5 separate regions of the Homo sapiens genome follow, and regions 2, 3, 4 and 5 are each linked to region 1. The links are contacts of gene promoters, found by promoter capture Hi-C in blood cells and fetal thymus (Javierre and others, 2016). All regions are on one chromosome and are shown on one strand. The core of a region is centred on a gene start or on the middle of the fragment in contact, and the rest is flanking DNA. Distances in the headings are between cores, read along the strand shown.

Region 1 (5,810 bases), core at 882-3,381:
TTTGTCTTGAAATCCCAGTGCAGGTTTTCAAAAAAAGGTTTCATTATCTACTAAACTCTACCATGACAAAGATCTCCTTTTCACCACATAGTTCAATTTCCACAAGTGTCAACAACTTTACTGTAAAACCTAGCCTTAAGTCTGAACATCTATGTAACAATTATACAAAGCACTTGTCTCTCTTTAGGCATTTTTGTGGTGTGTTTTCAATACAAAATGTAATCCACTAGCTTTGGGGAAAAAAAAAAGGCACGCATTTTCAAAGAATCTTGTGGTATTAAAAAGAATCTTAAGGTTCTATTTTTCTCCTTCAATCTTTGTTACTTTTTGAACTAAATTTCATTTGCCAGGTCTTAAAAACTAAAAGCGTTTTTCATTGTGAAGTTACATGTACCTCTCGTCTTGAAAATCTGACAGACTTGGAAATTTCTATCAACTTTAGTTTTTAAAAATTATGTAAGCACACAAGATTTATATAACAAAGAACAATATTTCACTCTGATGTACAGAAACCTGAGAACTGGGGAAGCAACCCTACTTCTACAAGCAATGGTACCTACAGAATTTACATATATACATAGGGTGGGGTGTAACCCCTCAAAAGGCGCTTTGGGTACTTAGGGATTCAAGCAATAATTTGAAAAACAGAGAAAAAGTACAATTGTCTACCCATACTTACTTGTAAATCTTTCTTCAATTTTAGCAAATCTTCATTTTCTCCATTTCCAGATAATGCAGCTTCAACTTGCTGGAGCTGAGCTTTGTAGCTTGCCAGCTGCTTTGCTAAATCCTCTGACATCTAGGGAAAATAAAAAGGGTTAGACCATGAAAACTAAACCAAAAATCAAGGCATAAAAAACTAACTCCCCTGTCTGCCTGAATTACCAGTTTTTGCCTCTAACTCCTTCTAACACTGCAGCTTAATTTACCACCATTACCTTTACTCTCAGTTTAGACTTCAGCTAAACCACAAACTTAAAGGCAACAGATTCTGAGGATTATAAACTTGAGATACATTCCATACTTTAAAAAAGCATACAGATACAAAGAAATTTCTAATTTTCTTTTAACTCCTATCCACAGGGTAGGTGCTGAATTCGGCTCAATAATCAGTGTTATCTTTTTAAAAAGCACTACTCTGTTGGAAAAGTCGAAACTTTCAAAAACAATCCAAATACTTATTTTTAAGCACTACAGTATGCTTCCAAAGCCAAACAAGTGCGTTTTTAAATTAACTACACAAACTACGATCTTTACTTGAACTATTCAATTAAGAGTGTATTTAAAAGTGCCTCTCCAAAACAAAAATCTTTCGCCCAGTCGCTTAAATATTTATCGGTGCATTATCTTCAGCAAAAAGAACAGCACAGGTACTCTCCCATTTAGGCATTCTAACGAATGTGCCTTTCGCCAAATCCAGCTCAGTCATTTTCCTGAAAATAAGATACCAATTAACCTTTTTTGATGGTTTATAAGCAAATGTACCACGTTTCCGAGGACCCTTCTCCTTCGTAAAATTCCCGTCCAACCAAAGGCTGGGAGCCTGCAAAGGCCCCCTAAGAGTTACAGCGACCCAGGCTGCTCTCCTCCCCGCCACGCAGCACCTCAAAGCCCGCCACAACTCGATCATTCGGACGTGGAAATCCACACGCCAGCTCCAAGACCACCGCCGGAGCCCCGCCGCGCTCCAACAGGCAGGCTCCACAGGGAGCCGCGCGGCGCCCAGCCCCACCCGACCCGGTCCCCTGCGGGCCGTGTTTGCCGCCGCCGCACGGAGGCCAGCGCCGGCCGGGCCGCCGAGGCTCAGCTCTGGCTGAGAGACGGCCGTGGCTCCGGGATCCAGGGCCAGCGCCTGGGCGTCTCCGGCGAGGCGGGCTCCTCAGCCTTGGGCCTCCGCTTCACCTCGGGAGGGACCCGGGCCCGGCCAGGCCTTACTCTCTCCCTCAGGGGGGTTGTTACCTTGTGTGGGGCTGGGGGCGGGGCGGCGGGAAGGGGTCGGGGCAAATGAGCCCAGTGGTAGTGGCGGTGGCAGCAGCAGCAGTAGCAGTAGCAGGAAAATCACCGCGACGACAGCAAGGCGACCCGGTCTGAAAAGGAAGAACTCGGTCGGCGGCGAGGGGGAAGGGAGGAACGCCGGGCACTGGAAGGAGGAAAAGACAGAGACGGTGAAGTCTCGCGAGAAATACAAACTCTCGCGCGAGGTCGCTCGACTCACGTGACTCCGCGCGCCCTCTAGCCAGTCCCTGGCTGTCAGGGACACGAAGTAGGCGGGGCCTAGGAAGGAAATGGCGTAGCTGGGCTTCGCCAGGCGCGGAATGCAGGTTATCTTCCTGGAGTTCCGGCTTGGAATTTATTGGAAATGCAAATTCTCAAGCCCCACCCCAGACCTCCTGAATCCAGAGACTCTTGTTTTAATAAGCTCACCAGATGATACCAATGTCCGCTGACGTTTGAGAACCACTGCTTTTCCGGGGCGGTGGTGGTGGGTGGCGGGGGGTGTTGGTGGGGGCTCTCTTTACGTTGCCCTGGCTGGTCTCCAGCTCCTGGGCTCAAGCTATCCTCCTGCATCGGCATCCCAAAATGCTAGGATTACAGGCGTGAGCCACCGCGCCCAGCCTGAGAACCACTACTTTATATGATACAAGCCTTAGTAGTAACAGAAAGCTAATTAAATCGTGACAGAAATAACCTATTGGAGAGAAGATTGATTTCTTTAAAATCTGTTTTGTTAAAACCTACTTGGTTTTAATTTAGTTGGGTTAATCTCGCCTGATAGGGAACAACGTCCAAGTTAGTCTAGAATGGTAAAGAGTGGTAGGAATACTCACATTTGTGTTCAAAAAGAAATGCCCCTTGTGTATGTTTGTAATAATATATACGCTTTCTGGACGGATACACAAAACTGTTCAGAGGTTTGGAGTGGAAGCCAAATGTTTTATTGATTACCCTCTTTGCTGTTTACCCTTTTTCCTTTTCTTTTTTTTTTAAACCATATATATATAATTTATTTCAATTAAAAAAGCAATAAAGGCCTGAGACACAAAGTTTTATATAGATGACAGGAAGCAACCTTTCCTGGGAGGTTGGGAGTTTGTTGCTGGATCCATAAAAAGGCCCACTTCTCGCGGATCACCTGAGGTCAGGAGTTCGAGACCAGCTCGACCACGTGGAGAAACCCCGTCTCTACTAAAAATACAAAAAAAAAAAACCAACAACAACAACAACAACAAAAAGCCGAGCATGTTGGTGCATTCCTGTAATCCCAGCTGCTCGGGTGGCTGAGGCAGGAGAATCGCTTGAACCTGGAGGCGGCGGTTGCGGTGAGCCGAGATCGTGCCATTGCACTCCAGCCTGGGCAGCAAGAGTGAAACTCCGTCTCAAAAAAAAAAAAAAAGGCCCACTTCTCAGATGGGCTCTTTTGAACTGTGCCAACATCTTTAGTTCCTAGTTTTCTTTTCAAGGAGCCTTCCCTTTTGTTCTCTACACACACACACATAACCCTTGCAGTGAGTCAGATAACCTGTATAGATGGAAACTAGGTCGGGTTTGTGAGTGTGAAAGATTGAAATTGCAGCAGAGGGCAGCAGTGTGTAGCTAGAATTAAGAAGGCAGACAAAACAGAAAGCATGTGCTTTTAAATAAATATTCGTTTAAAATAAAATGTAGTTTTAGAGAACTTCTGTTATTGTAATTGTGTGTTTTAAGAACCGATGCGAGGAGGAACTTCCTTGAATATAAAGTCAACCTTATTGTGTAAAAATCTCTTAAATGAGAACTTTTCCTGAACCCCATAGATCAGAAAATAGGCAAATATTCATTATAAGTTCCATCATAGATTTCTATACCATCTTAATAATTTTTTCAGGATTGTTTTTAGGATTGTTTTTATCTATGCAACATTCATTTATAAAGAAAAGCTATATTGAATTTTAATTTTCACAAAGAAATAACAGTTTGTATGTGCCAGATACCATTCTAAGCACTTTACACAGGTTCATTTAATTTTCACAATTGTATGCGGTGTTGCTCCAGACAAAACTGGAGCAGACAAAACTAAGAGCAATACTTCAAATAGGCTTTCTGAATTACTATTTCCTTTGAAGTGTCAAAATTTACTTTCAGTGTCTGATTTTTCTTAAAACATTTGCATTCAAACTTAATCATGTTTATTTAAAAAAAAGTATCTTAAACCTTTAGTTTTGAAACGTGATATTTATTTTATTGAAAGACAGTAAATAAATAAAATGTAAAGGCTCCAAATTGTCATCAGAATATACAGCTATTTCCTTTCTACTAAAGAAAATTAAAGTATGGCATGATGGCACCCAGCTACTTGGAAGGCTGAGAAGGGCATCCAGAAGTTTGAGGCTGCAGCACACACTGACTGTGCCTGTGAATAGCCGCTGCATTCCAGCTCGGGCAACATAGTGAGATCCTGTCACAAATTTTAAAAAATTAATTTTTTTTTAGATGGATTCTCCCTCTGTCACCCAGGTTGAAGTGTAGTGGTGCAGTCTCAGCTCACTGCAACCTCCACCTCCCTGGTTCAAGCAATTCCCTTGCCTCAGCCTCCCAAGTAGCTGGGATTACAGATGTGCGCCACCACGCCTGGCTAATTTTTTTGTATTTTTAGTAGAAATGGGGTTTCACCATGTTCGCCAGACTGGTCTCGAACTCCTGACCTCAGGCAGTCCGCCCGCCTCAGCCTCCCAAAGTGCTGAGATTACAGGCTTGAGCCACAGCGCCTGGCCTAAATTAAAAAAAAAAAAATTAAGTATAGCTCTTTGGAAATGTGCCAGCCCACTGTAAAGCAGAAGAATATGCAATAAAGTAATACATGTTGGTCAAATAGGTTTTTTTTTTTTTTTTTTTTTTTTGAGACTGGGTCTTACTCTGTTGCCCAGGCTGGAGTGTAGTGGTTTAATCTCAGCTCGCTGCAACCTCTGCCTCCCAGACTCAAGCAAACCTCCTGCCTCAGCCTCCCTAGTAGCTGGGACTACAGGCATACACCACCATGCCCGGCTAATTTTTGTATTATTTGTTTTTTGCTAGAGACAGAGTTTCGCTATGTTGCCCAGGTTGGTCTCAAACTCCTGGGCTCAAGTGATCTGCCCACCTTGTCTTCCCAAAGTGCTGGAATTACAGGGTGAGCCACCTCCCTGGGGCAGAGACTGCATTCTTTATCTCAGCTTTTATTGTATCATTTCCTGACTAAAAGTAGCCCCAGATTTGGCCGCGTTTTTTCTATCTTGACCAAATGCCAAAGGTGATGAATTAGAGTTGTGTACATAATCATAGTAATTGTTTTATGCTCCTTTCTTTAGTCCTAATAAGTGATTTGAATCTTTGCATAATTTGCTGCAGGACAAGCTACTTGCCTTTTTGTGCTTATTGAGTGTTTTTGGATACAGTACATGGAACACATATATCCTGGGATGAAGCTTAGGTGGCATCATCCATTTAAAGTTGATGGAAAACAACCTGAAAATGGTGTTGGTCAGCGCAGGTCTTCAGATGTTCATCAGTCATAGCAATCCTGAATTGTTTGCTTAAATTTGTATTGCACTGCTAGCCTTAGGATGTGCATTTCAATTATTCTGTATTTTACACGTACCATTGAGGAACAGAAGACTGTACCACTAAAAAACAAAAATATGCCACTAAAAACGGAAAACGAGAATTTCTTCAGGTTGAAAAAGATTATAGTCTAAGGCTTTACAGGATAAGAAATGTCAGGCTTTGTTTGTTTGTTTGTTTGTTTGTTTGTTTGTTTGTTTTTTGAGATGGAGTCTCTCTCTGTCGCCCAGGCT
Region 2 (5,810 bases), core at 1,622-4,121, 1.9 Mb after region 1:
AGAGATGATAAAATAAGAGAACAAGGACATTAAGAAAGTAATTATGACTGTATTCAATGTTTTCAACAAGTAGAAAAAATAAACTGAGCATGGGAAGTAGAGATGTGAAAAATCTTTAAAAAAAAAAAAGACACAAACCAAACATCTAGGAGATAATAAAACCACATCTAAGATTTTTAACACCCTAACACACACACACAGACACACACACACACACACACACACACACACACACACACACACACAGGATTAATAGGTTAGACATTACTAAAAAAGAAACAGTAAAAAACCTGACGGGAGGCTGAGGCAGGAGAATGGCGTGAACCCAGGAGGCAGAGCTTGCAGTGAGCCAAGATTGTGCCACTGCACTCCAGCTTGGGTGACAGAGCGAGACTCTGTCTCAAAAACAAAAACAAACAAACAAAAAAAAACTTGAAAGCATTGTGATAGAAACTATCCAAAATGAAACACTAAGGGAAGAAAAATACTGAAAGTAAAAGTAGAGTATCAGTGAGCCTAGTATACATGCAATTGTAGTCCCTGAAGAAAATGAGAAATATGAGGTGAGAATAGATTAGGGAGGACAGAAAAAAGCATTTGAAAGAATAATTGATGAAAACTTTCCAAATTTGACCAAAACTATAAACTTATAAACCCAAAAAGCTCAACAAACTCAGTAGAAACATGAAGAAAACCATACCAAGAAACATCACAATCAAAATGCCTAAAGCCACTGATAAAGAGAAAATCTTAAAAGCTATCAGAGAGAAAAAAAAAGACATTACTGTACAGAGGAACAAAGATAAGAATGACAGCAGATTTCACATCAGAAAAATGCAAACCAGAAGATGGTGGAGCAGCATCTGAAGTACTGAATGAAGAACCTATCAATCAAGAGTTCTTTTTATATTAATATATGGTATGTACATTTTATATATTTTTATATATATCAAAAAAATAAAATAAAAACATATTTTGACATCGAATTGCCAAAAGAATTCATCACCAGCAGGACCGTTCTATAAGCAATGTTAAAGAAAGTCTTTCAGGCAAAAAAAAAATGCTGTCAGATGGAATTCTGAATCTATGCAAAGGAATTAAGAGCTTAAGAAACCACAAATACGTAGGTAAATAATTTTTCTTATTTTTTAAACCCTTTTATTTTAATTTATTTTATTTTATTTTTGAGATGGAATCTCGCTCTGTCACCCAGGCTGGAGTGCAGTGGTGCAGTGGCGTGATCTCAGCTCACTGAAACCTCCTCCTCACAGGTTCAAGCAATTTTCATGCCTCAGCCTCCCGAGTAGCTGGGATTACAGGCACCCGCCACAACGCCCAGCTAATTTTTTTCTGTATGTTTAGTAGAGTTGGGGTTTCACCATATTGCCCAGGCCGGTCTCGATCTCCTGACCTCAAGTGATGCGCCTGCCTCGACCTCCCAAAGTGCTGGGATTATAAGAGTGAGCCACCATGTCAGCCATTAAAACTCTTTTAAAACATGATTGCTTAATGCACAAACAAAAACAATATTTTGTGGGGTTTATAACATGTACAAATAAAATGTATGATGACAACAGCACAAAGTCCAGGAAGGGAGAAGTATTCTGTTGTAAGATTCTTATCTTACGCACCAAGCAGTATAATATACTTGAAGGTAAACTGTAATAAGTTAAAAATGTATACTTTAACTCCTAAAGCAACTACTATGAAAGCAAAACTAAGAGTTATTGTTAACACATCAACAAAGAAGCTTAAGTCGAATTTTTAAGATGTTTAATGAATTCAAAAGAAGGCAGTAAATGATGGGGGAGAAAAGAAAGAATAGATAGAATAAAGAGAAAATACATGGCAAGATGATAGATTTAAGCTCATATAAGTAATCACCCTAATTAAAAGGCAGATATTGTCAGACTGGAAAAAAAATGAAGATCCAATGATATGCCACCTATTTAAAAACTCACTTTAAATATTAAGACAAGTAAAAGTAAAAGGTTAGAAAACAGTATGCTATACTAATGCTAATCAAAAGAAATATAGGTGGGTATATTAATATCATATAATTTCAATACAAAGAATATTATCAGAAATATAGAGGATCATTTTATAATGATAAAAGGGTCAATTCATAATGAGGACAAACTGATTCTACATATTTATTCCTCTAATACAGCACTTCAAAACATATAAATCAAAAACTAATCGAATTGCAAGAAGAAATTTTAAAAATCTACAATTGTAGTCAGCCATTTCAATACCCCTCCCCCAATAACTAATAGAACTGTGGGTAAAAAATTAATAAGGATGTAAAAGGCTTGTACAATACTATCAACCCAACTTGATCTAATTGACATTTATAGAACATGCCACCCAATAACAGGAAAATAAACATTCAAGTGTGCACAGAACATCCACCAAGATAGGTCATATTCTGGATCATAAAACAAGTCTTGATGCACATATAAGGATCCAAATCATAAAACATATACTCTGAGCACGGTAGAAATTAGAAACCACTAACTTAAAGGTATTTGGAAAATCCTTAACTATTTAGAAACTCACATACTTTTAAAAAATCATGCTGTAAAAAAGAAAAATGAAAATTTGTAAGTACCTTGAACTAAATGATAATGAAAACACAATATATCATACTTTGAGGAATGCAGCTAAAACAGTACTTAGAAATTTATGGCACTAAAACACCTATACTAGAAAAAAAGAAAGATCTCAAATTATTTATCTCAGATTCAGCCTTAAGAAAAAAGTATAAATTAAACCCAAAATAAGCAAAACAAAAACAGAAAATAATAAAGGGCAGATATCAACGAAAGCAGAAAAATTTTTAAGTAGGAAAATAAAAAACAATTGAAACTGAAAGTTAATTTTTTGAGAAAATCCATAGAGTTAATGAACCTCTAGCCAGATTCATAAGGAAAAAAGAGGAGGACACACATTATTGATATTAGGAACAAGAAGAGTGACAGCACTACAAATTCTGTATACACAGTAATACAGCCTTTCATTACCCAAGCTAGTTGCCTTTTGTTTTCAGGGTGGTGTACCAGATGTTAGATTTCCTGTCTTCATAAGGTGAGTCTGATTAGATCCTATAAAAAGCTGGTCCCACCCATTGTACCAGCAGAGAAGCTATTCCCTCTCTGTTTCCCTCTCTATGATTTTGTTCAGGACAATCTCCTGGCCAACTCTGAAAATATAATGAATTGTGATACCTAAGCCAATTATGAAAATGGCACACACCCTGTGTTTGTGAAAGTAATGCACATGTACCTCTGTGTACATTGCATTTTGTTTTGTTTTGCCATTTTCCAGATGTTCGAGGTATTTTAAAATCTTTGTTCTGCCATCCTACATATTGACCAGTATACCTGCTACATTTTAACATGGCTCATTCTCATGATGATGCTGCAAGATATTATGATCCTTAATTTACAGATAAGAAAAATGGGCTCAGAGTAATTAAATAAATTGCCCAAATCAACCAGACACAAAGCAGCACAGAAGGGATTTGAACCTAGGCCTTTCTCATACTAAACCTCATATTCTTGACAATAATTCATGCTGCCTTCCTAATAGTCCCTGTTCAGAGGCTCCCTTTCAGACTGATCCAGATTCGTTGACCAAACTTCCCTGGGTGCATTTGTTCAAGTAGCTGCAGATCTACCCATGTATAATAGCATTGCTCTACAAGAATATTGTAAGGACATTGTTAACTGACTTGCAAAAATCTAATGATAAAGTATCTATTAAATTCCCTTATATAAAATATAATGATTGTTCTATCAAGAACTTTTAAAGGAAGTAGTTTGGCATGAATTATTCTTACTGGATTCATGCTCTTCTCATTATGACCTACTTTTCTTTGGGCTGCTTTTGTTTATTTATTTATTCAGTATATATTTATAGAATATCTACTTCACGCCACCCAACCTATTGTAGAGACAGCATTGAACAAGACAGCACCACACTTCCTCCCTTCAAGCTTATAGTCTAGAATATTTACACTACTCCTGTTTAATCATTGTTTCAAAAAGTTTCAAAAATCAGCATCAAGTTCATTGACTTGTGGCTTCCAGAATTCACTTCCCTACTTCCAGCTGATCTGGGGCACTCACTGAGACCTACCTGTTCAAGACGTATTTCTACTCTCTGATTATATTCAGGGTGATCTCTTGCCTAGCTCTGAGAAAAGAATGAATCAAGGTATCTAAGCCAATTATGATAATCTTGTTCCCTAATACTGCAACTATCCTTCTAGCCAAGATGGTCACATGACCCAGTTCTGGGCAATGTGAACTGAGAGCAAGGCAAACTGAGGGTTCCTGAAGTTTTTCTTTCCTAGTAAAAGAGGACACAGCTGGCACCGCTTCCTTTTCCGTTTTGTTCCCATTTGCTACGTAATTCAATATCCAAACCCAACACCACGAATCACACACCTCTGGATTTTGCCAAACCTCTACCTGTGTAAGCCATTACAATGTTGTCTTCTGTTACTCTCGGGTAACATTCCTGATTGTCACTATGTAGGTTCATTTTAATGAAATGGGCAGCTTAGACCCCTACTGCAACACATCCCAAGCCCAGTTTATTTAAACAATTAATCAAAAACTTTTTTACTGCCTACCTATACTCTGTAAGGAGGATACACTCTAGTCCCTGTTTTTAGAAATTCAAGATTTCATTGGATAAAATAAAATATGCACAATTAAATAGCTGCAAATAAATAAATATATTTCTAATCATATTTGAGCCTGGATCTCATTGCCAGAATGACTCAAACATTCTAAAAAAATAATAAAAGAGAGAGAAAATATCCAGAAATAGTCCCTACCAGTGTATCGCATGCTGAGGGGTGGCAGTGAAGGTGACCTTAGATTCTGCCTTTAAGAAAGGGTCTTTCACAGGGTCTAGAGATCAAGACCATCCTAGTCAACATGGTGGAACCCCGTCTCTACTAAAAATACAAAAAATTAGCTGGGCTTGGTGGCGTGTGCCTGTAATACCAGCTGCTCGGGAGGCTGAGGCAAGAGAATCACTTGAACCCAGGAGCCAGAGAGTGAGCCAAGATTGTGCCACTGCACCCCAGCCTGGGCAACAGAGTGAGACTCCATCTTAAAAAAAAAAAAAAAGAAAAGAAAGAAAGGGTCTTAGGCCAGAAGAGAAAGAAACCCCTCTGACTTACTTTTACCACATTTATGGCATAATAAGGACTTCATTTTGACTGAAACCTGCTTCATCAGGAAACAATCAATAGACTCAGCTTTAAATAAGAGATGTTAGAGGATGACTGGAATAGCATAGTGCTGGCTGGAAATGTCTATAACGGCACCCCACACTTGGACTGCTAATTGCATTACCCATCACATATATATTGGTTTATGAAATCATACTTCAGAACTGAATAATTCAGAGAAGCAAATAATGAATATTCTTCCTTCTTTTAGAGAAGGCAGAATCTTCCAAAATGCTACACCAAGAAAAGTGGGCCCACACGACAGACACAGACAACTATTTCCTTAGTCCCAAGCGATTGCTCCCAAGCTAAAATATTTGTGATATTTCTTCTTACATACACACTTGCTTCCAAGTCTTAAAGAAGACTGAACTGTGGCCAAACATCACGGCTTATAATAATGTAAACTTCCTGGGCTCAAGCATAAGGCATGCTGGGACCTCATTCTAGGAGGGAGAGTGAGGAGGGCAGAGCCAATCAGACGGGAAGACAAGCACATTTTCCTGGACACTGAAGTTAGTTATAACAAGACATAGTGTTCAAAGAATGCACCAAGTCCAGG
Region 3 (5,810 bases), core at 1,378-3,877, 1.9 Mb after region 1:
GCGCATGGCATGTTTACTACAAAATGAATATGATGTTTATTACGAAAGCTCCTTGGGGGAAATTTTCTCAAATAATTATTGTTTACAGAGGATCCTTGTGAGACAAAAACAATTTTATCCAACTGAAACCAAGCATAACCATCTTTCCAAAACATGAAACAAAAATGTGCTTCATTTGCACATACACAGGCATAAAACGATTCTTTTCCTAACCCTATGTCTCTTTCTACAACACTAATTTTGATATGAAGTTGAAACTGTCTAAGTCAATCTTTCCAAACTCACAGCCTCCTATTCTTTTCAAGTAGAGTGATACTAACATAAACATTAATATATATTTTTGGTATCCTCTACAGCAGTGGTCCCAAACCCCGGGGCCACGGACCAATACCGGTCCCCGGCCTGTTAGGAACCGGGCCACACAGCAGGAGATGAGTGGCAGGCAAGCAAGCAAAGCTTCATCTATATTTACAGCCATTCCCCATCACTTGCATTACCCTCTGAGCTCCGCCTCCTGTCAGATCAGCAACAGCATTAGATTCTCATAGGATAGGAGCGCAAATCCTATTGTGAACTGCACATCTGCCCATGAGGGATCTAGGTTGTGCATTCCTTATGAGAATCTAATGCCTGATGATCTGTCACTGTCTCCTATCACCCCCAGTTGGGACCGTCTAGTGATTCTACATTATGATGAGTTGTATAATTATTTCTTTATATATTACAAAGTAATAATAATAGAAATAAAGTGCACAATAAATGTAACATGCTTGAATCATCCCAAAACCATCCTCCCCACCCCCATGGTCTGTGGAAATTGTCTTCCATGAAACTGGTCCCTGATGCCAAAAAGGTTGGGGACCACTGCTCTACAGTAAATAGAAGGAGGCCACAGTAAGGTGTTGCCAAAGCTTAGTATCACTCTTTGAGAGTAAAACTCTGCAGAATAAAATGAATGAGATGAGCCATCCACAAAAATAACACCTGAGAAGTGGTTTGTGAATGGGTAGACTGTCATGTAACAAAAGAAAGCTGCACAAAAACAGGCTGGGCTAACTACAGCCTGCTGTGTCTGAAGGACAGGTGAGCTACACAGTCACTGGCATAGAGTCCATGAAAGGGAAGTTGGATTACAAAAAATTATCAGTGTTTATTAAGCAGTTCCAAGAAATCCTAATTGAGAACCAAATGTGAAGGAAATGGGTATAGGAAATATTCTAATTACAAGAGAAGCAAGGCTTCTCTAGAGCCCCAGTGGAATAGTCCTCTTCCCTCTAAGTCTGTGCCCACCAGAAACTTCCTGATGACTTTCTAATTCAGTTTCCCGGTTCCTTGTTCCTGGAGAGAGGTCCCCTGGAGAGCAAACACAGATATTCTAATTCCTGGAAAAGCACATCTACCCTGTAGAATCATATCACACGCTATTACAGCTAGCTGTCTGTCTACATTATCCATTAAGCTATGTGAAGGCAAGGACTATATATTTTGTTCTCTCTTGTCTAAAGCACAGCTGGATAAATATCACTGACTGCATGAATCCATGGCTTCTCTTCAGTTGGGTCACAAGAGTCTGGTTAGCTACAGAACTCTGAAAGCCTATAGAACTCTGAACCAAGGGATTAAGAAGGAGCTCCTTAGACTGTGATACTGAGGACACAGCACACAAAGGTGACGAAGGCCATCTTGTGAAGCTCCACCTGCACAACCTGCCAGCCCACTTTCCTTCCAGTCTCTTTCTAAATTCATGCTCCTTTTATCCACTCTCTACCCACAGAGCTGACCTTAGAGATGCTTTGTCCTTTCAGGTTTGAAACTTTTAATTTCCCAAACCAGCTCAACCAGTTCCTCACCAATTCTTTGTTGGTGATCAGACCTACCACCTACCCAGTTTCCTAGGTGGTAAACACCTGGGAATCTTGCTCCTTCCTCTCCCCCTCTATTGAGCCCCCATAGGGACTAGCACTGGGTCTTTAAATTCGAGCTACTAAGTACTTTTTAAATCTATGCCCTCCTGTCCAAAAACAATACTACAATTTAAACCTCCATTATCTTCTGCCTGAACTATCCTAATGGAAGCAGAATTGATTTCATTCTTTCTAATCCAGAATGACCTTTCAAAATACAAACCTGAACATGTCATTTCTCAAGTACAGGACAGACTCTAATCTCTTGGCTTAGAAATTGTTTTGATCCAGCTTTCACTACCTACACAGCTACCACCTCCAGTCTCTGATCCTTCCTAATGCATCCCATATTCCCACCTTACCCAATTGTCCATCACTTCCCAACCATACCATGCTCCTGTATCTCTCCGCATTTGCACATACTATTTCCCCTGAATGGAACGCATTGAGGAAAACCTCTAAAAAACCTTTCAAAAGGTGAAAACCTCTAAAACATACCTTTCACATGATATTGTACTTTTTAAGTGGTTCTAGCTCTACTAAATTATGAGGTCAAAGTAACAGGTATGGTTGTCTTTATATCACTAACCCTTCTCCCACTTCACTGCCCCCTCCTCCACCAAACAACTCCCTACTGCTGAGCCTGGTATGGTAATTTGCTATCTTGCCTTTCTAATTGCCTTTTATCTATTTGATAAACAATGCCCATAAAGTTTAGGTAGTCACAGTTCACCAAGTATCCCATATAAAATATATAAATAATGATGATAGTCTTAATGCATTTTTGCACTCTCCAAATTTTACACAATAACTATGTATCACTTTTATAATAAAAGAAAAAAGGCTAATGTCATCTTTACAATAACATATCGAAAGCTATAATTTAAAAAATTAAAATTCAAAACATAATCTTTTTAATTCCTTAAATTCCAAAATAAGCTCATCTTACCTGAAGATTGGGATGTTGAGATTATTGCCTGAAGCAATGTATGGTGCTTTGATGTTATGGCAGAAGAGAATGAAAGTGAGCAGCAGATAGTCAATATGGGATCTATGAACTGGTAGAAACAGAAGCGGCAAATTCGTCTAGCAAAGGGAAAAATGCCAAATTTAAAACTCAAATGTAAAATTCAATCACACTTTGCAACTGCATATTTGGCTAGAGTCACTCAAACACTGGCTAATCAGTGACTCACTCTTTAAAAACATTTTCCAATAATAGGAACTTCCTTCAATGTAATACTTTCTGAGCTAAAAAGAAAAAGAGCAACTATAACAACAGAAATAAGTTGGGGGAAGAAGAGCAATCAAGAGTTCCAGTTGACCTATACCCTTTCTGAGAAGCAGCTCCACTGATATAAAAAGAGCACAGGTTTTGGAGTCAGGCTTGGTTTGATTTGAAATCCAGGGCAAGTCACTTATTATCTGCCACTTGAGACAACCTATTTATCTATCTGTGTCTCTATTGCTTCATCTACAAAATAGGGATTGTTCTACCAGATTTTCAGGGTTGTTGCAAGGTAACTTACAAAAGGAATCCTGCATATTGCTAGTAAGTACTCCTGTATCTCATTTCTCCTCCCCAAATACACAGCTATTGAAGTTATCATAAATGAGGGAAATCTTCCAAATGGGTTGAAATACATCACAGTACACAAGAAAACATTTCCACAAGAACCCTAAAACCACTCTACAATTGAGGGGAAAATGGGGTAATAGATTCACAGAAATTCTTGCCTCAGTTGCAGCTTTAACCATCTCAAGTTGACCTTTGTGAATTTGAATGTTCCAAAAGAAGCTGTTGAACAGTTTTAGCAGCACCCACCCAGTCAGTCTGAAACAAAGTACAAACAAAAAAAACAACATAAATGAACACACGTTATTTTTACATACAAGCACATACAGTTGACTTCTGTCTACTTAAATTTATGGACCTACAACCTCAAAGTACTTGTAAATGACTTAGTGTGTGTGCACATGCATGCACGTATGTCTGAATTGCTGAACTAGAGCTAATTTTATATATATATATACTACTTACAGAAGTATCCATTTATTATAGACTACAGTCATAGTTCACTCTAATAACATTTTATACTGCAGAAGCAAATGACCAAGGCGAATGAATATTTAGTGAGCAGAATGATCCCTCTGATGTACACAAACCACTCCTTTTATGACTCAGATACGTGAAAGTTGATTCACAAGCAGTCTAGGTGAGCAGATGTTAGTAGTAATACATTGGCTGCTATCAATTAACAGATATGAAGGCACCTTCAAGCCTACCACAGTGCTACTTTGCACGAAAGCTGAATAAGAATATAAGAAGAGTTTAATTTAATATCAGGATTCATTAAAACATCTTTTGGACAAAGAGAACTGTGCTAGGAAAGTTCAATAATTCAGTCTTATTTGCTCAAATCAGCATGGCTGTGATTGAAAGCTTTCTGCCTTGCCTTTTAATACCTGATCATTGCCGGTGAGACAGTGGCAACCATTTCTTGAAGAATCCTTTTAGCTTTCTTTTTCACTTTGTTAACGGCTTTTGATTGCTGCTGGGCAGAACCATCAGGGTTTAATTCAGCAGCCACTTCTGCAATTGCCTCTTGTACTCTGGTATGAAAATGGAAAAAGAGACAATGTAATTGTTTCTATACTACATTCTGTATTCAGTATTTTCTAAACTGCAGCTGTAAATCACAAAACAAAATGTATGTTCTCTTTAAAATGCGGTAACATGAAAGAATAAGCTCAAGCTAGAAGTGCTCTTTCTGGCTATCTATTAAATATTAAGAATACTATATTCCTAAATCAATGAATCTCTGAGGAATCTGGAAAGCAGACTAAGAATTTAATTCAAATTTACTGGGTGAATTTGAATGTTCCCATTAAAGTATGAGGGACACGAAATTGTACTCTAGCAGAAGAGAGAAAAAGAAAGGTTATCCCTTTAGGCATATAATTCAGAGGTATCCAAAAGTCTACTACCAAATTAATGTGTGATTTTTCTTTTGAAGACTTAATTTACTTTTAATTTGTATTGTGACTCCATTAGTAAAACTATATGTAAAACTCTGGGAGGGACCAAAAATGGTCATAAATATTTACAAATTTTTTCAACTCAAACCAGTAATTTTTAAAAGGCACAGCTCAAGATCAAAAGAGCACAGCACAGAATAATAAGCAGTGAGATAAAAGGAAACATTTAATCCAGTTTTATAAATCTTCCAGCTGACTTAGGGGAGAAAGCATGAGGTTCAACCTCCTTAAACCACTTCTAACATCCCAGTTACTAGTCAAAACATCTGGATGAAATAAATGTACTTGAAGGTTTTAACAAGAAAACAGAATATATAATAATCTAAGAATTTCACATAATTGTGTTTTATCCCAGTGGTGCTGATTTTGGACTAGTGAAGTACAGCAAAATTCCACATAGCCCCATAATTCACTAATACAAAAAGACCAATACCACAGGACACTGATGCCCCCCAAGTCTATTCCCTAAAAAGCATTCATTGCATTCTGACCAGGAATGTTTCTACACGTCATTACCATGACTGATGCACCTCCATTATCAACTACTCACTCATCCATTCGAGAAGTATTTCTTGAGTACATATTATGTGCCAGCATTGTTCAGGCCTTAACAAACATAACGAAGAGTCTACAGATGACACTTATGAATTTAAAGCAGCCTTTTAATTCACCCTGGTCTCCTGCTCCCCAAATCCAGGTAGATCTCTGAAACTGGCCACACCAATGAGGCCAGTACTCTAGAATCAATATTCTAGAGTACGGGAGTTTGGAACATCTTCACCCAAACTCCCATATTCTAGAATATTTATTTCCCCATTCCACCTGAGTTCCAATCAGTCTTTCCTATTGTAAGCAAGCTCCTGTAAG
Region 4 (5,810 bases), core at 1,855-4,354, 1.8 Mb after region 1:
CCTCCTGGAAGGGGCACCTTGAAACTGGTCCTTTCATGCTTCTTTTTCCTAGGCCAAAAGATACAAACTGGCAGTTGACAAGATAGAAATGGCCTGGAAAGGCAATTTACTTGATCCATATATGTTGTTGGACCATTGTGTAAAAATTAGATGCTTTCACATAAAAATACAAATTCCAGATTACACTGAAAAAAAATTTTTTTTTCAAATCAGAGGATCAGGCAACACCACCAGGACTATCTGGTAAGGGATGGGAGGCAAGGAAGAGTTGGAGAAGCACGGAGTCGTGACGGGAGACAGGAGACAATAGGGCCATGGAAACTGAAGGGGCAAGAGAAGCCAGGTAGGGGTGTCAACACCACAAGTGCCCTTGTACATGTCAAGGAGGTATGTTGGAATTTTACTAGCTAGATGTGTAGAAGACAGCAAGGGCTTAAAAAGGAAAATGACAGGACTAAAATTAGAGAGTAGACTAAACAACGAGATGAGACTTCAAAATTAACATCCACTTACCTAGTGGCTGTGAAAGTTAGAATTTAGCTACAATAAAAGGAAGGTAACCTTTGGCAGCAGCAAGAGAGTTGCTAATGTAAAGAATGAATGTGCCAGAATAAGGGCACAGTCACAGCAACATCACAGAGAAAATCAGAAGCGTTCAAGTAGGAAGTTTAGGGAGAGAGGCTGGCTGGAGAACGGATGGGATGGTCTTGGGCGTCAATCAGTTTCACAGCCATATCATGCATCCAAAGGACACGGACATCATCAGCAGGCACACGTTTACCACCGTTTCTAGAAGGAACACTCTGGAGATCAGGCTGTATTTGAGAACTTTCAAAGAATCCACAAAATCTGTGCTCTGATAAAAGAAATAATTTTCTTGTCAAAAAAGTAAACTAATATTGTTTGAGCAACTGTGATAAACTAGTGGAGAAAACACTTTTTATAAACTTAAATATGTAAAAATATAACAAAAAGCACCAAGCTTAAAGAAATCTTTACAAAAACCCACAGAATCTCCCTAGAATATGAATATTTACTAAATAAAAGGAGAGCAATAGCTAAGAAGCAGACCTACATCTCCAAATGCTTGATCAAATTTGGAAAGCTGTGGGTCAATAATAAAAGCATGAACTGTAGGTTCATACATTTATGTAAGGTATCGTTAAGCATTTTAATAAGTTGCTATATAAAGTCAGAAAACAATAATTGTTCGTATAATGAATTATGTAGGAAACTGTTTTAAATACAAATCAAACACATCAAGAGTATGTTCAATTTTTGGTTTATTAAAACAAAACTACATTTTCTGTGTTTCTTGCAATACACTAACAAGCATAAAAATCAATCAGCATTTCCAAGTATGTTTTGCTCACAAAATCGCAGTTATTTCACAGTACCTTATAGTAATTCTTTTCACGAGTCTTAACATTTCTTTGTACAACAGGCAAATAGTTTAATACCTTCCATCAAGACATTTCAGAGCTCTAGACGTTTAGAAATAAGGTCAAGAATCTCTTTCAAATGCAATCATTAGTTTGTATTAAACTAAAATGCCAGACGGCAAGTCTCAGGTTTCTAAAATAGTTTTAAAAAACAGGTTTACAGCCCATAGTAAGTCTTAGAAACCTCAACGATAGGTCCTGTCATGTCTAAACACTACAACTATCTGTGGATAAAAATCTGCATTCAAACGTACAATACTTTCTTCTAGATCTGAATTAAAACCTTATTTACCCCAATTCATCCATGTATTCTGATACGTTCAGTGAAAAAGCCAGGATCATTGGGGCTGTTCTCTCTATCAAAGGAAAGAGCTCCGATCACCTACATTATAATTTTCTGTGCTTATTTTCTGCAGGGGAGGAAATACACATCTATTCAACGCCACACTGGACGTTACAAAATGCATGCATATTCTGCCCCAGTGCTATCTGTTCATTACCGTTTTGTCTCCTTAAAGAACTATCTAACATAGTGTTTCCCAAAATGTTCTCCACAGGACATTAGTGAGAGGTTCATAAGTATCCCAAAGGAGAAAAAGGTCCTGGTGTCAAAATAGTTTGGGCAATGCTGGGTTAGACAGTTTTTCACTACCGGATGCCAAGCCCTTACTGCGCTAAAGTGCATTGTAAGTTTCCAGGTGCAAACTTGGTTTCCCAGCAACACCATTTCTATAAAACACTGATGAACATCTCACAGAGCACTCATATTACATGGAGTGCTATGGGAAATGCTTTTCCCCATCCAGGTTACTGGCAATTCCACAATTTGGGCTTACATTCATTGTAATCCCAGAAATATTTTCTCCATTTACCCTCATGACTTTGTGAAATTTAACAGATTCCAGAAGGAAGACTCGAAGCCATCTCAGTTAACAGTTCTACACATTTCCCACTAGTTTTTGCCTTTGTTTTTCATGCATTTTCAGAGTGCACAACTTCCCTCCTCTCTTCTGAATCACTTAGGACATTCTCATTTTCAAAAACAGACTGCAGTTTCATGTTGTTTAATATTGTTTTTTTTTTTTAACTTGACCACAGTCTTCCCCTGAAGAAGGGCATGCATTTCATGTTACAGAAATGCGATAGAGTAAACTGTAATAAATTATTTACAAGCACCTAGTTTGTTTAACCTTATGTGGAAGCCATCACTGTTGGAAAACAATGAGAATGTATCTTTTAGCAAAACGGTGCTATCTGGAAGCTTCATTGTGAAGATGCTTTCGTTTTTTTGTTTTTTGTTTTCAGTCATGAGGCACTGAAGAATGAGTTGTGCTGAAATTAACTCAAAGGTCAGCTTGTCTGGATGAGCATAACTTTGGTTGAGATTTTTCTCCCTTAAAAAAGATTTTCAAAGCACCAGTTAATTACAAAAAGCATGCATATTTATCCTCACAGTGAGTTAAGTGGTGAGAGAGCTAGCAAATCATACATTGCATTCCCCAAAGCATCTGAACGTACTTCTAGAAAACAAACCAACCAAAAGGGAAAATAATGCAAGAGAAGCCGTATTTTCTTTGCTTAGGTTGGCAAAGCAGCAGCTCTTTGCAGCAATGACAGGCAGGGCAGAGTGTCGACTGGGAAGCGAGTCCCAATCTTGAATAATGGTGAGCTTGAGTAATCCTTAATTTACAATTTAAAGGATGAAAAAAAGAGACTAGTGAAATGTTTGCTTCCCCAGATAAGGAACACCCAAGACTCCCTGGGTATCCTCCAAATGTAGCCAAGAAAAGTGTTCTTCTACCCTAGTCAGTAAAATGGAATGCTAAAACATGATATCTCATTCAACATCAGAGCTACTACAACTGACAATGACTTCATGGTATACATCAATTCCTATAAAGAAAAAATATATTTTAAATGCAGAACTTGAGAGGGATCACAACAGCATAGCATTATTGCTATGAGTTTCAAACATGGTATTTCATACAATGTGAAATATCAATCAGCATCCCTCCCTCTCCCAAAACACACATTACTCATGAGATACTATCAGTGTTTAAAATCCAAGCTTATGGAAGTACAAACTTAATTCTCAGTACTTTTATACTAAATTCAAAGAATCTATGTAACACTCATCTGGAAAAATTCTTAATTCCATAATATCTTGGAGATAAGCAACAGTAAACTGTTAGAAAACGTTTTAACATTACATGATATTTAAAAAATCACCATAATTACCATAATAAACCAATAATTATGCTCCCTGCTCACAAAAGGCACCTACCAATTATGAACAGACCATTTTTCATAATTATTTACCACTATGTGGCATAAGGGTTTAGGCATATAACCCATAAAAATTTGTTAAAAGTCATGGTTTTTCCTCAAAGCTAAAAATCCATAAATGCCTCTAACCATTACCAGTCAGTAGGGCCACCACATGCATATACTGGACAGGTTGTGCACGGCACAACTCGAGTGGGTACCAGTCACCTGGACTGGGGTGCAGTACACAATCTGTGTGCAGTACAGAAAGCCCTCATCAGCTGTGGCCAGAGAACTGTATTCTAACAGTCTGTCAGCTCAAGCTAATCAAGTTAGGAAAACTGCTATTTGGTTGGAGGATTTCCAAGAAACAGCTGTACCTGTGAGAGGCAGGTATTACCTGAGGGGTGGACGAGGTACAGACATAAAACAGGAAGGGTTCTAAATATATTTGCTGGTCATTTGAAACTCAATGGCACTTGTTTATATGAGCAAAAGCCTTCAACACCAGTTTTCTGGCCAAGTTTCCCTAGAATTTTGCCAGCCAAATTAACTTCCTGATGTTAACTATTTGATTACAATATCTCAGTTCCCGACCTAAACTAATATTGTCTGTTTTCACATAGCTCTTAAAAACATTTCTAAATCTGACAGCAAAGGACAGCACAGTGATACCTGGGTGTGATATATATCAGTCCACTCAATTTATAAAGCACTTTGGGATAAAAGGTGCTCCCATTAAAAATGTAGCTACTATTGACAGATAAAACTGAAAAAGAGTGAATGGATGACTCAATTATTTTTAAAGGAAGCATTAACCACTAACCAGATAATATACCAACAAATTACCCAGCAGCACTAAGTATACCATGTAAGATTCAGTTCCAGAACACAGCTACATTTCTGTGTCCATCACAGTAATTAGTCCTTAAAAGTTGTACTTAAAATGTCAATCTTTAATAAACTCAAAAATAATTTATTGAGATTTCATCTTGTAGTCTACGGATTATGAGTTGCGAATAGAGGCTGAGGTCCCCCCAAGTGTTATCTGCAGGCTGCTGTGTTGATGCAGAGCTGGGAAGATCACAGATCCATGGAGGGAGAAGGCACTTGTCTTCCAGGAGATCACTTCGGGACAGGGCAGGCCTGACCCTGCGATGGCACCTTCAACTCTTGAGCCAGAAGCTGGTACCTACAAGGAACTCATCTCATGACCTTCATTTGCCAGCAGTGCCACACGTTACCTACAGCACCACAAAACTCAGAATATATTCTAGAAGTTTTTGTCGGTTGCATTGAGGTAGAAAAGTGCTGCTCAGTTCTAAAACAGACACTCTCTTTTGTTTGGTCTCCTTGAAAACCTAAAGAAAAGGTTTAGATTAAATTAAAGGCAAAAAATAAAAAATAAAAAAAATTTCCATTACCAACCTGACCTGTGGTGTCCTAGACCTCAGAAGGCAGTAAAGGCACAAAAAACCATATCCTGGCATTAAGTAAATGTATGCCTGGGTGTGTGTGAGCATGAGGTGGGAGTTTCCAATGCAAACAAGGTTTTCTTTTTCTATTTTTTTTTTTTTGTTTTGATGGAGTTCAACCAACATTAACTATATTCTAAAATTTCAACCAACATAACTATACTCTAAAATGACTTAGAATAAAGTCACAAACAGTCCCTCACAAAAGGCCGCTAGTATCTCTATAGAACTTACATTCCCCATGAATCATGAAGGTAAAGGACACCTGAGGATACTTCTAGAAATTCTTGTAAAAATACAAGAAAGTAACTAAAAATCATATGGAATAATTAAGAGCCAAGATTGTGGTCCTAATCCCAAAATCAAAAATCTGAAGTACTCCAAAATCTGAAAGATTTTGAACATCAATATGATGCTCAAAAGACATGCTCATCAGAGCATTTTGGGTTTTGGATTAGAGACGCTCAACCTGTAAGTCTAATGCACATATTCCAAAATCCCAAAAAAATCTGAAATCCAAAACATTTCTGGTCCCAACATTTTGGATAAGGGATATTCAACCTGTAGCACCTTGAAACATATTGATACCAGTTATATATAGCAGCTTGGGAATAAATGTGAAACCAGT
Region 5 (5,810 bases), core at 889-3,388, 1.3 Mb after region 1:
TACAGACATTTTCATATATAACCACAATGCCATCATCAACTCTAGTCAAATTAACAATAATTCTGTGATTTGTCTAATTATCCATTATATTCACATTTCCTGATTGTAACAAAAATTTCATTTTATAGGAAGCTTGTTCAAAACAGTATCCAAATAGGATTACACATTGCATTTGGTTATGTCTCCTAGAATCTTTTCATATAGAGCAGTGCCTTCCTCATCATTTTACTTTTTCATTCTACTGTCTTTTAATTTGTTTCTGTAAACTTCATGTTTGTTAATAACAACACTTTTTCTCTGAGGGTTCCATTATAGTCATGTTTGACCTTTCTTCCCAAAATTACATCATACGGGATGCCATGTATTTTATCTTCCTTCAAGTGGTAAATATTTCTGGTTTATTCACTAGAATAAGTATTACTTAAATTAATCAGTGGGTTCAAATGGTAAAAGCCTGACCTTTCATGGAAAAATTCTCCATTCATTTTTAAAAATGTCTTCATTCATTGAAAATCTTTGCCTAAATTATTGATTCTTATTATAAGTTGCAAAATGATAATGTTCTAATTCTGTCACTTCTTCAACCCTTTACATTTATTAGGTGGAATTCCTCTATAAAGAAGTAGTTTTCTTCGTCAACTAGGGCTACTTGGTCATATTGAAATACTGCTTATCCAAGAAAGAAAAAATAAATGTTTAATTATTTCCCTTTAATTTTCAGAGTGAGGTTACTTCCAATGTGACCAATGAGTCTTTTTTAATTTGGGGGGTTAAGGGCTATCTTTTTAAAAAAACTATTATTATAAACATGTATATTTTTGTAAATTCACAGAGGTGTTCCTCAGTTAATTTGTTCTGATGTTCAAATTGTCCCATCTTTGGTCAATGAGTGACCCTTCAAACTGTTTCGATGTCCTTTTGATGTAATTCCATTCATCTTTGACTACATCTTTGCTATCTGCATAAAAAGATGGCCAATGCTCATCTTATGCATTTCCTGTCTCAGATCTGGAATTAGTCATTCTTCCATGGATTCCTAGTTCCTTTTAGTGGGACACAGTCGGTTTTTGAAAACTGGGATCATGAACATGAAAGTGTAAACACTAATGTGCTGGATCCTGGTTACTATTAGCTTCCACCGTGCCACACTCTCAGTGTCTGCCAGAGCAGATCTTTCAGTTGACTGATTTTTCCCTTTCATCTCCTACATGCTATACCTCCTGCCATGAATTTCAATGCACACAATAAATATTCCTTGTGATGAGGACTGGGTATAATTCACCATTGAATCTCCAGGGCCTAGAACAGATCCTGAGATATGCCAGGGTGCCCAAAACTTTTTGTTGCATGAATACATTTTTCATTCTAAGAAAACTTTCCTGCCTCCCATCTTTCTGAATCAATTACTTTTTAAAATTTTAAATTATAATTTACATCTCTATTAAAGTTTCTAGCACCTGATACACTGGCACAGAGTAGGCATGCAATAAATATTATTAGATAAATAAATGAACATATGATGTCATAACACCAATCTTTTTCAAATCTATCAGGGCTTCCTCATTGCTCTTGCATACATTTTAAATTCCTCAACATGGTATACAAGGCTCTGCATCATCTGGTCCTGACTATCAATCCTTTTAGCCCCATCTTCTACAACTTTTCTTATTGCTCACCCAGCTCTAGCCTCACAGACTTTTTTTTAGTTCTTTAAAAGTACCTCATTCCACCCTGCCTCTGGGTTATCACATGCTCTTCCCTCTACCTGACATGATTCTCATTCTTCTCCTCTCCCTTCTCCATTCTGCCCACTTAATTCCAGCTCCTCTTTGGATATCCCCTTATAATCATCTCTTCTAGAAGGCCTTGTATGACTCACACGCCTCCAGACCTCCTTGCTATATGTCCTCATAGCAAGGATGTCTTGTTACTTTATTACCATGGTATTTATTATACTAGTAATGTGTTATTACTTGCTTAATGTCTATATTCTCCACTAGGCTGTAAGCTCTATCCAGGCAGTGTGATCTAACACTCTATTCCCCATTTCTCAATAGGTGCCCAATCAGTACTGGCTGAATCAATGGATATTAGATTCATTATTAGTAGATGGTAAGCTCCTGGAATACAGGAACTATGCTTTTTCCATCTTCATATCCTTTTGAGCTTCCAGAATGATTTGAATTACTAGAAGAGATTTAGGAAATGTTGATTGAGTGGCTAGACATTGTCCCTAATCAAGGCATTTAGTTGCCCTAACTGTGCAGAGAAAAGCATTTCCTGGCACAGCCTACCACTCCAGTCCAGATTCTGAGTATGAAGTACTTTTCCTCCTAATGATTTGCAATGTACCTGTATGTTCACCTCCCCCACCATCAGCTTTAGACAAATCACAGTGCCAAAGAGCCAGCAGCTGGAAGGGTGGCCTAAGGAGATTGCCACGCTTGGACTGGTTGCATTTTTCTTTGTGCACCTAAGAACCGGTATTTAATCCATATGACCCTGCTCTACGCCTAGGACAAGGCTGAGTGCAAGCTGGGGGAAGAACCCTGCTCTATCCAGAATGATTTCACTGATAGGAAGCCATGCAACTGCATTCCATGGGTCCCTTTCAGCCGCCGCTTAGTAACAGAACAACTCCATAACCAGTTACAGCCATAGCCGGGAGGGGAAAGTCTAGTGCCACCTACTGGTTACAAGTCAGACTGCCTTGCTTACATAACAAATATAGCCTCTATGAAGGGCAGGCATTTTGAATATCTTGTCAACTTTAGTGTGAACTTTTATTATAGAAAGAACTATTCCATTTCATTTGGGACAGGGTGCTCCTTAGTGGATCAGCATACTTGGAATCAGTCAATTGCAAAGTCAGGAATAAAGGTTCTTAAAAAACTGGCACAGTAGATTTAAGCTAATGGTCTAGAAAATTTCATATTGAGAAAGCAGAATTTATTTCTGGTGGGGATAGGATGGGGTGGGGAAGAGTAGAGAAGTCTTCAGTGCATCCATTGGTATCTGAATAACTACCCATTTGCAAACACAGTTACTGGCTAAGAGACGGTTTGCACAATGGCTAATACCTCAGACTTTAAAATCAAGCAAATCTGGATTCAGATTTCAGCTTGGGCACTTATTAGCTGCGTAACCATAGGCAAGTTGCATAACTTCTTTGAGCCTCGGTTTTTCTCATCTGTAGAACAGAAGAATAGTACATAGTACCTACCTTATAGGATTTTTGTAAGACATAAGCGAAGCTATATATATATATATATATATATATATATATATATATATATATATATATATATATATATATATATATAAAGCACTTAGCCCACTTACTCCAGTAGTGCTTATTAAGGTAATTTTAAAAATTGTTACTTCTATAAGAAAACTTCTTAGAGCATTATTTTGATATGACTTTTCCAATCATTTACATAAAGACACAAAAGACACAGCTCAGACTCTCAAAGAGCTTGCAGACTAGCTGGGAAAACTAATACATAAACACCTAACTGGCGCACAACTGGACAGCTATTCTAGTTGAGCTATGAGAAACAGAGGAGGGAGCAACGAAGTCTGTTTAGGTTGGGAGAAGAGACACAATAACTGAGTGGGTTCTTGAAAGATGGAGAGAACCACACCTAAGATGGACAAGTGAAGGGAAGAGCAAGAGTAAGAGCTTAGAGGCATGAAAGTGAAGGGCATGTTAGGAAATACAGAGTTGCCTGATGCAACGAAAGAGAACTTTAGGTGGGATGAAGCTCAGTGTATTCAAGTCCCCAGAAGAAGGCATAGTGGATCAAGACGAGTTGGCAAGAGTAAGAATGGGGACAGATGCTCTGCAAGGGTCCTTGGATGTTCTGTGATATTAGTAATGGACATTGACTATTTTTGTCCAATGCCCATTTTTCTATCTGGCAACCTGGTTTTCCTTTGGGGAATAATCCATTCCGAATTTTCTGTCCATGTGGTTTGGGTTGTGCTGATCAGCTAACCTCATACCCATTTCATTTTAAAGGGTAGTCATATGATCCATGCTTGGAGAATGAGTATATTCCATCTGCTTGATCACAGTGGCTGGTTCAAAGATTGATGATGTTACCTAGGTTAATCGAATCAGAGTGAACTCTAGGGCAGCTGAGAAAGCTTACAGCATTTGATTACTGTAGGGTGAGTGTAATGAACCCAACTGTAATGAACCCTAAGGTGACTCAGGGCGATTTATAGCATTTGATTACCATAAGGATGTACAAGCCTGGGCTGCTGGGGGGTCATCACATGTCCACCAATGAGACAACAGAGAACAAAGAAAAAGTGAAGATAGAGAGGAGATGGACTAACCCCTGACTATGTAATCTGGACTCCTGGATCCAGCATTCCTGATGAACTTTACAATTCCTGAACTTTTCAATAAATGTATCTTTTGCTTTAGGCCACATTAAATGGCTTGCTATCACTTTCAACCAAGAGATTCCCAACCAATAAAATATCACTGGTTTCATATTTTTAAAACTTTTTGCATTTTATATCTCATGGGACTACCTCATTGTTATAACTCATACATAACTAGTAGACATTATTAATACATTTCTCAGCAAAATCAGGGAACCCTCTAATTCCCCAAACCAAGTCTTTCAGATGTAAACTCTTTAAATTCCTGATGAGCGAGGAAACAATAGATTCAGCAGATAGGTAAGAAAGTTATTACACCTAGTTTGCAGCCCAAGCTAGTATTTCAGTCAACAATGCATGCCATTTTTAGACAATTAAGGTTTGAAAACCATCTGCATGAGTTTTAAAGACTGTTACAGGCCCTCTGCCTATTGTTGGTCATGTTTTCACTGCTGAATTCCCGCTGAATATATAAGAAGACTAAAAAGAAAGCTCTTTACTATTGACAGCTTTGATTCCAGCCCCAGCAAAGCATTATACTTGGAAATCAGCATGCTCTCTTATTGCGCCTGGAAGCCAGCCAGCTGACAAGAAAGAGCCACTGCTCTGGGACAAGGCCACAAACACAGGTGCCGGCATGCCCTCTCTCAGCTGCCCCTGCTGGAACTGCAGTGCTCAGCAAGGGACATATCTGTATGGGATACACAGAGGCTTCAGCAGAGTAAAAATGTTCATAAAAGGAAGTATTTGGCATGATAGATTACATTTTTCCTATCTTTATATAGTTTCAAAGGTTCAAACAGTACTAAGTTAGCCTACCCAAACAAAAATCCTTCCCCCTACACCCAGGAAAGAGGGGTCAGTTTCAGGAGACCCCATCATGAATCATGAAAGCCTAAAAAGTGTGCCAACCAGAAAGAATAAAAGCAACACACCCATCCATAGTGCCCCCTGAATGTATAATATAATACACAATACACACATTCAGTCTGCCTTTCTGAATCATTATTCTGACAATACAGTGTAAAGAGGTTGATTCCACAGCAGATGACAAATGCCCTCTTCTAGGCTGAGGAAACAGCATATATGCTGCTAGTATAGGTATAAACTTTCCTCAAAGATATTTTCTTTGTCTTACAGAATCTTATTAAAACCAAAAAGTGGTATTATTGGCTACTATTTCTTTTCTTTTTTTTTTTTTCCAAGACTGCGTCTTGCTCTGTCACCCAGGCTAGAATGCAGTGGCGTGATCTTGGCTCACTGCAACCTCCAGCTCCCTGGTTCAAGCAATTCTCCTGCCTCAGCCTCCCAAGTAGTTGGGATTACAGGTATGCGCCACCACACCTGGCTAATTTTTGTATTTTTAATAGAGATAGGGATTCACCATGTTAGCCAGGCTGGTCTCGAACTCCTGA

The links. Contacts are between HindIII fragments. The CHiCAGO score rates a contact against its expected background, and 5 or more counts as called.
Region 2: a fragment that was not itself captured here is called in contact with the fragment with the promoter of SMNDC1 in region 1 in 2 of 17 cell types (naive CD4 T cells and non-activated CD4 T cells); the score reaches 5.8 in naive CD4 T cells.
Region 3: a fragment that was not itself captured here is called in contact with the fragment with the promoter of SMNDC1 in region 1 in 1 of 17 cell types (naive CD4 T cells); the score reaches 5.9 in naive CD4 T cells.
Region 4: a contact is called between a fragment that was not itself captured here and the fragment with the promoter of SMNDC1 in region 1, in 1 of 17 cell types (naive CD8 T cells). The highest score is 8.5, in naive CD8 T cells.
Region 5: a contact is called between a fragment that was not itself captured here and the fragment with the promoter of SMNDC1 in region 1, in 1 of 17 cell types (total CD4 T cells). The highest score is 6.6, in total CD4 T cells.

Annotation. Positions count from the first base shown.
Region 1 is chr10:110,302,789-110,308,598 of GRCh38, forward strand. SMNDC1 (survival motor neuron domain containing 1) reads right to left here and starts at 2,132. Exons shown (of 6, transcript NM_005871.4): 1 at 1,960-2,132; 2 at 680-799. The coding sequence starts at 799. RefSeq lists a silencer at 1,644-1,963. The HindIII fragment of the contact is 6,895 bases long and covers 1-5,439 here.
Region 2 is chr10:112,185,371-112,191,180 of GRCh38, forward strand. It overlaps a transcript of GPAM not described here. Among named protein-coding and RNA genes, the nearest start is that of GPAM, 4.5 kb to the left of the region's middle. The HindIII fragment of the contact is 2,247 bases long and covers 1,749-3,995 here.
Region 3 is chr10:112,169,329-112,175,138 of GRCh38, forward strand. GPAM (glycerol-3-phosphate acyltransferase, mitochondrial) reads right to left here. Exons shown (of 22, transcript NM_001244949.2): 7 at 4,371-4,517; 8 at 3,642-3,738; 9 at 2,854-2,990. Among named protein-coding and RNA genes, the nearest start is that of GPAM, 12 kb to the right of the region's middle. The HindIII fragment of the contact is 3,436 bases long and covers 910-4,345 here.
Region 4 is chr10:112,148,599-112,154,408 of GRCh38, forward strand. GPAM (glycerol-3-phosphate acyltransferase, mitochondrial) reads right to left here. Exons shown (of 22, transcript NM_001244949.2): 22 at 1,267-5,068. The coding sequence ends at 4,952. Among named protein-coding and RNA genes, the nearest start is that of GPAM, 32 kb to the right of the region's middle. The HindIII fragment of the contact is 807 bases long and covers 2,702-3,508 here.
Region 5 is chr10:111,595,978-111,601,787 of GRCh38, forward strand. No RefSeq gene overlaps it. Among named protein-coding and RNA genes, the nearest start is that of HEAT2, 480 kb to the left of the region's middle. The HindIII fragment of the contact is 4,017 bases long and covers 131-4,147 here.